Linked DNA regions of Homo sapiens: region 2 is linked to region 1. The links are contacts of gene promoters, found by promoter capture Hi-C in human tissues and cell types (Jung and others, 2019). All regions are on one chromosome and are shown on one strand. The core of a region is centred on a gene start or on the middle of the fragment in contact, and the rest is flanking DNA. Distances in the headings are between cores, read along the strand shown. Region 1 holds the start of TBC1D21 (TBC1 domain family member 21). Region 2 has its middle 27 kb from the start of STOML1.

What was found. Contacts are between HindIII fragments. The study calls those that stand out against the background at their distance.
Region 2: a contact is called between a fragment that was not itself captured here and the fragment with the promoter of TBC1D21 in region 1, in 2 of the 25 tissues and cell types used here (H1 embryonic stem cells and aorta).

What each region holds. Positions count from the first base shown.
Region 1 is chr15:73,872,135-73,875,232 of GRCh38, reverse strand. TBC1D21 (TBC1 domain family member 21) reads right to left here and starts at 1,669. Exons shown (of 11, transcript NM_153356.3): 1 at 1,464-1,669. The coding sequence starts at 1,523. It overlaps LOC102723657 (a long non-coding RNA gene), which reads left to right and starts at 1,698. Exons shown (of 6, transcript XR_932455.3): 1 at 1,698-1,938. The HindIII fragment of the contact is 7,159 bases long and covers 1-3,098 here.
Region 2 is chr15:73,963,400-73,966,790 of GRCh38, reverse strand. No RefSeq gene overlaps it. Among named protein-coding and RNA genes, the nearest start is that of STOML1, 27 kb to the left of the region's middle. RefSeq lists a silencer at 716-865. The HindIII fragment of the contact is 3,981 bases long and covers 12-3,391 here.

The DNA of each region.
Region 1 (3,098 bases), core at 420-2,919:
CTGTCGCCCAGGCTGGAGTGCAGTGGCGCAATCTCAGCTCACTGCAACCTCCACCTCCCTGGTTCAAGTGATTCTCCTGCCTCAGTCTCTTAAGTAGCTGGGATTACAGGGACTCACTACCACGCCTGGCTAATTTTTTGTATTTTTTAGTAGAGACAGGGTTTTGCCATATTGGCCAGGCTGGTCTTGAACTCGCGACCTCAGGTGATCTGCCCGCTTCGGCCTCCCAAAGTGCTGGGATTACAGGCGTGAGCCACTGCACCTGGACAGGTTCTCTTTTCTACTCCAGTTCACCTGAGGACAAGATAGACTCCCAACCGTAACAAGGGGTTCCCACTTCAGCAATTATTACCAACCCAGGTGTGGAGGGTGTATCATCAGTACAGCACCGTGATGAAGAAAATGGTTTAAAACAGTGGTTCACAAAGCTAATTGTGCATCACAGTGCCCTGGAGGGATGAGTTACAAAAAACACAGATCTCTGGGCTTCGTCTCCAGTTTATTGGTTCAGAAGATCTGGGGCCCAAGAGTCTGCATTCTTACAAGTTCCCAGTTGGTGCTAATGCTGCAGGTTTGGATGCCACACTTTGAGAATACTGAGTTTTGCACCCCACCTGTCTGGGTCGAAATACAACTTCTGCCACTTAACAAGCTGTGTGACTGTAGGCAAGTGACAAAGTCTCTGTGGCTCCATGTTCTCATTTATAAAAGGAAGACAACAGCATTATTCACTTCATAGAGTTGTGATGAGAATGAATGACTATAAATAAAGCATTTAGAACATTCATCGTACATAATAAATGCTATGTGACAGTTTATTTTATTAGCCTTCTCTAAGCTCAGAGAAATGAGAAAGATATAAAGAAAATTTAAAGCAAGGCCTGGTGATAATTTGCCATAAAGCAGTAACATTTAAAACTCAGGGAGAGGAGTGTCCATTTTGCATTTTTATGTATCACTCTCTTAATCACTATGATTAATGAGACTTAAGATTGGCTAAAGTTATTGTAATTAGTTATGATTTTGAAAAAATACCGTGTGGAAAATTTTTATGACTGAAGCCGACTTCTAACAAATAGCTGTATCTTGTAAACTGGGTTTAGAACTACCTACTAACAAAAGCATTACTGCCACCTGGTGGCAGTATACCAAAATTGTTGGCAAAAAGCACCGATGAAAATCTATCAGCATCTTCAGGTTCGCACCTGCAAACCTACAACTCAATAAAGTTAGAATAGCACATATGTGGAGAAGGTTTTGCTGGCTTGGAAAGAAGGTGAAAGGGGGCTTGGATGTCTCAGTCCTGTCCTTGGGCTGATGGTAAGAGTAAGGTACAACCGCCCTTGCTCCACCTTCTATGTTAGCTCAGGGTTCTAGCTTTTCCTACCCAGCAGGGGAAAATGGTCCCAGTGCCAACCAGAGGCTGGGGAGGGAGGCACTCAGAGCTGACAAAGAACACGCACCAGGATGAAGGAGGCTGACTGTCTGGCAGAGAGGCTGTTTTCAGGAGAGAGGGTGGTCATGGCCCCTGCTGTCTTCCGAACAGCCTCTGATCAGAACTCACTTGGAGCCCTAGTGATGCTTAATCCTTTTCGGAGATGGGTTGCATTCCCAGGAGGAACTGGCTGCTCCTGACCTCCCACACTTGAACAGAGCCGGCCAGCAGTGTGTCACAAGTCCCCTGGAACTCTCATCACAATGACCTGGAACACGGGAACACCCACCTTTAGAGATGAGACACAAGCAGGAGAAGAGGGATTAAACCTGCTAGTTTTGGAAAAAAAAAAAAAAAGGAAAGAAAAGAAAAGAAAGAAAGAAAAACAAAAAACAACAACAAACAGAAAAATGCAAAACTGCAGAACACGCAGTGGAGGTTGGATTCAGAGGACATGGGGATCAGTGTGGGCTGTGCTGGTCAAGGAGGGCTTCCAGGGAGAGGTGGGCCATGAAGCCTTGCTCTCTATCTCTGACTCTTCCTCTGGACTCTCTTAGCTGGACTCCCTCCCTATTCCACCAGACCAGTGCCCAAAGTTGGAGAATAACTAGAAACCAGGCTTCAGATGTCTTGGGTACCAGTTATAAAGATTCAGAATCAGTATGTCAGTGCTGGGGCCTGGGGGGCTGGGGAATGTGTTTTGATATGCCTCCTGGGGTGACTTAGCTTCAGCATTGGAATGGTAGCTTCTGGGGTGGAGATCAGTTTTGTTTAGCTTTTTATTTGGAGCACTTACGATCGTGCCTGAGTAGCTGAGTTAATGATTTAATTGAATGGGAGAATAAATGAAGCTGTCTTAGACCTCATCTCACTTCCCTCTCTGTATGTATGACAGAGATTTGTGCCTGCCCCATATCACCTCCTACCCTGAGTTCCTTTAGGCCAGGGTCAACATCAGATTCCTCTGTGGTTCCCTCTCCCAATGCCAGTTCTGCCATCACTTGGCACTTGGTAGGTGCTCAATATTTGTTGCATGGACCCAAGGAGTTGGCTCTGCTTGGCTCCAGCATCACTCTTCTCCACCTTAAGCATTGCTTGCACTTCTACTCAGGTCCCATCTGGCTCTAAAGCATCCTTAGTCATTAGGAGATGATAGTAATTCGACCAACCAAATTGGAATCAGGAGCTGGGTGTTGGAATTTGGACTCTGACCTCAAATTTGGATGCTCCCCGCTTCTGAGCTACAGATTCCCCAGACATGAAATCAGAATACAGTCAACCTCTGGCTTTCACCTCCTTATTAACATAATGAATCACTGTCCATATGGAGTCTTCCACGGACACAATTCATTGTCTCATTTACTGTTTCTGTTCTGCTTGCCTGCGGCACTGCAGAAGGCCTTTTAAATCAAAATGCCTTATTATCGGCCTCTCTCCTCTACCCACTACCCTAGCTCAACCTAGGAGAGAGTTAAGAGCCTCTTCCCTTTGATCTACTGCCCCTAGGTCTTCATGGAGTGGGAGGTGGGCAACGTTGAGTAGGGAAGGTGTGGAGTAAGGATGGGGCCCCTTGCACATTAGGGTGGCTTCATTCTAAGGTCTGCAAGAAGTTTCCAAAGCAAATGTTTAGAGCAAGAGACATAGACATCATTTAGGATTATCT
Region 2 (3,391 bases), core at 753-3,252, 91 kb before region 1:
CATGAATGGATTAGCACCATGAGATCTAGTTGTTCAAAAGTGTGTAGCACCTCCCATCTCTTTTCCTCCTGCTCTGGCCATGTAAGTGGTGCCTGCCTCCTCCTTTGCCCTCCCCATGGTTGTAAGTTCCCTGAGGCCTCCCCAGAAGCTGAAGCCACCACGCTTCCTGTACAGACTGCAGAACCATGAGCCAATTAAACCTTTTGTCTTTATAAATTACCCAGTCTCAGGTATTTCTTTATAGAAAGAGGAGAACGGACTAATACACATTCCTAACTCCTGACAACCACTAGTCTATTCCCTCTCTAATTATATTATTTGCCGTGTAAATAGAATCATGCAGTGATGTATCCTTTTGAGGCTGGCTTTTTCACTCAGCAAAAGTTCATCCAAGTTGTTGCTTGTACCAATAGTTCATTCCTTCTACAGCAGAATAGTATCCTGTGGTATGAATATACCATAGTTTGTGAGTATTTTCTGGTTTAGGGCTATTATAAATAAAGCTTCTATGAACATTTGTGTACAAGTTCCACCATGAAAATAAGTTTTCATTTCTCTGGGAAAAATGCATGACAGTGCAATTGCCGGGTTTTATGATAAGTCCATTTTTATTTTTGAAAGGAACTGGTTATATTTTGAACATGGGGCCAACAGGATTATCTGACAAATTGAACGTGGGTTTGAGAGAAAAGAGGAGTCAGGGATGGTTCTAAATGAAAGCATGCTGGAACACAGTAAGGGCTTGGTAAATGTCAGCTGCACAAGTGGTAGCAAATACAGCTGCAATCATGAAAGAAATGAGAAAAACCACGAGGCACTGTAAGCCATGAGACATTGCCCTAGAAGGCATTTAGAGTCACTCATTTGCATATGTTAAAAGTGAAAGAGAAGAGTGTTTTATTTCCTCTTAGGATATAGAAAAACCACAAGGGAACATCATTCCCATTCTTTTCTGGGGGGGCTCCAGTGATCATCCCACCTCAGCCTCCTGAGTAGCTGGGACTACAGGCTCCTGTCGCCATGTCTGGCTAATTTTTTTTTTTTTTTTTTTTTTTTTTTTGTAGAGACAGGGTTTCCCCATGTTGCTCAGGCTGGCTGGTCTTGAACTCCAGGGCTCAAAGGGTCCACCCACCTCACCCCCGAAAGTGCTGGGAGTACAGGAATGAACCACCCCGCCCCCCGACTCTAACAATAACAAAACACCAGATAATTTGCAAAACCATAATTTCTTAAACCAGTCAGATAGCTGAGGTGGCAGGCAACCAAGAGAACTGAATTCCAAAGAGTGACAAGCCCCTCCAAGGAAAGGCAAGACCAACTGTCTTGGGCAGAGCATGTGGTGGGCAGGAGGGAGTCTGCCCTGCCTTCTGAGCTTTTTGCACAGGCCTTCACTGCAGGAAAAAGACTGGAGGCAGAGGGGGAGCCGGGAGAGACCCCTCCCCCTTGCTGGTGGCACAAGCACTCAAGCGGTGATTGACTGCTGTGCAGCGACCCCCACCTGCTTCCCCAGGACGATTCTCTCTGGGCAAAACCACGTGGGAGGCTGCACTCTCTGGCCCCAGGGCTGCTGCGGGAGAGGCAGAAACGAAGATCCACTGCTTCTGGGGCAGGATCAAAGTAAACACCACTTGCCCCTGTGGGAGGCGCAGGACGCACTCTCCTGTGTTAAACCCACAGGAGATAGAAGGCACGACAGGAGGGACAGGAGCACTTCGAAGACTCCACCTTCTGAGACCCTAGTACACAGGCTCTGCGGAGGCTGGGCCAGGAGAATGGAGCAACATCCCACCGTCCGGAAACCCTTTAACACACGTCCACAAACTGCCTCCACTACTAGCCCAACCAAGAGTAGCAGCAACGGCATTTACCACCAGGGGGCGGGCAAGAGCACACAGAGACATTTACCACCAGGAGGAGGGCAAGACCACGCATCCCCTAGGTAGTGCAGGCGAGCAGGGGTTGCTGAGAGCTGAGGGTGGAGCCGCAACTTCCAGAAAATTTCCGGGACCCTCAGGCTGTCTGTGAGAAACACACTTTAAATATAAAAACCTAGGGCTGGGGCGGTGGCTCACACCTGTAATCCCAGCACTTTGGGAGGCCTAGGCGGGCTGATCTCCTGAGGTCAGGAGTTCGAGACCAGCCTGGCCAACATGGTGAAACCCCATCTCTACTAAAAATACAAAAATTAGTCGGATGTGGTGGCACATGCCTGTAATCCCAACCACTTGGGAGGCCGAGGCACGAGAATCGCTTGAACTCGGGAGGTGGAGGTTGCAGTGAGCTGAGATCACGCCATTGCACTTCAGCCTGGGCAACAGAGCGAGACTCTGTCTCAAAAGAAATAAAAAATAATAATAAAGACCTAGATAGCCTAAAACCAAAGGAATGGAAAAAAGGCATGCCATGCAAACACTAATCCAAAGAAAGCTCAAGTGTCTATATTAATGTCAGATGAAGCAGAAACAGAGAATATTTCCAGGAATAAAGAAGGACTGTATATAAAGGGGTTGATTCATCAAGAGGACATCATAACTGTCCATGCATGTGCACTGGAGAACACAGTCAGGGTACATGCAATCGAGACCGTTAGAGCTGAAAGGAGAAATAGACACATCCACTCTTCTCTCAATATTTGGTAGAGCGAGTACACAGAAAATCAGGCTGGGTATGGGTAACTTGAATAACACTAATAACCAACAATCTGATTGACATTTATAGGACATTTCGCACAACAACAGCAGAATACACATTCTTTTTGAGTGCCCATGGAACTTTAGCAAGATAGACCATATTCTGGGCCATAAAGCAAATCTTAACAAATTAAAAATAATTGAAATCATACAAAGTATGTTTTCTCACCATAATGAAATTAAACTATAAATCAGTAACAGAAAGATATCTGGAAAGTCCCCAAATGTTTGGAAATCAAACAACACACTTTTAGATAACTTATGGTTCAAAGAAGAAACCATGAGGATAATTAGAAATATTCTAATGGAAATAAAAATACAACATATCAACACTGTCGATGAAAAGAGTCGAACTCTGTAAAATATTTTAGGAGATTTATTCTAAGCCAAATATGAGTGACCATGGCCCGTGACACAGCCCTCCGAAGCTCCTGAGAACATGTGAACATGTGCCCAAGATGGTCGGGGTGCAGCTTAGTTTTATATATTTTAGGAAGCATGAGACATCAGTCAAATACATTTAAGAAATACATTGGTTTGGTTCAGAAAGGAGGGACAACTCAAAGTGGGGACTTCCAGGCTATAGGTAAATTTAAACATTTTCTGGTTGACAATTGGTTGAGTTTGTCTGAAGATCTGGGATCAATAGAAAGGAAATGTTCAGGTTAAAATAAAGGATTGTGGAAACCAAGTTTTATTGT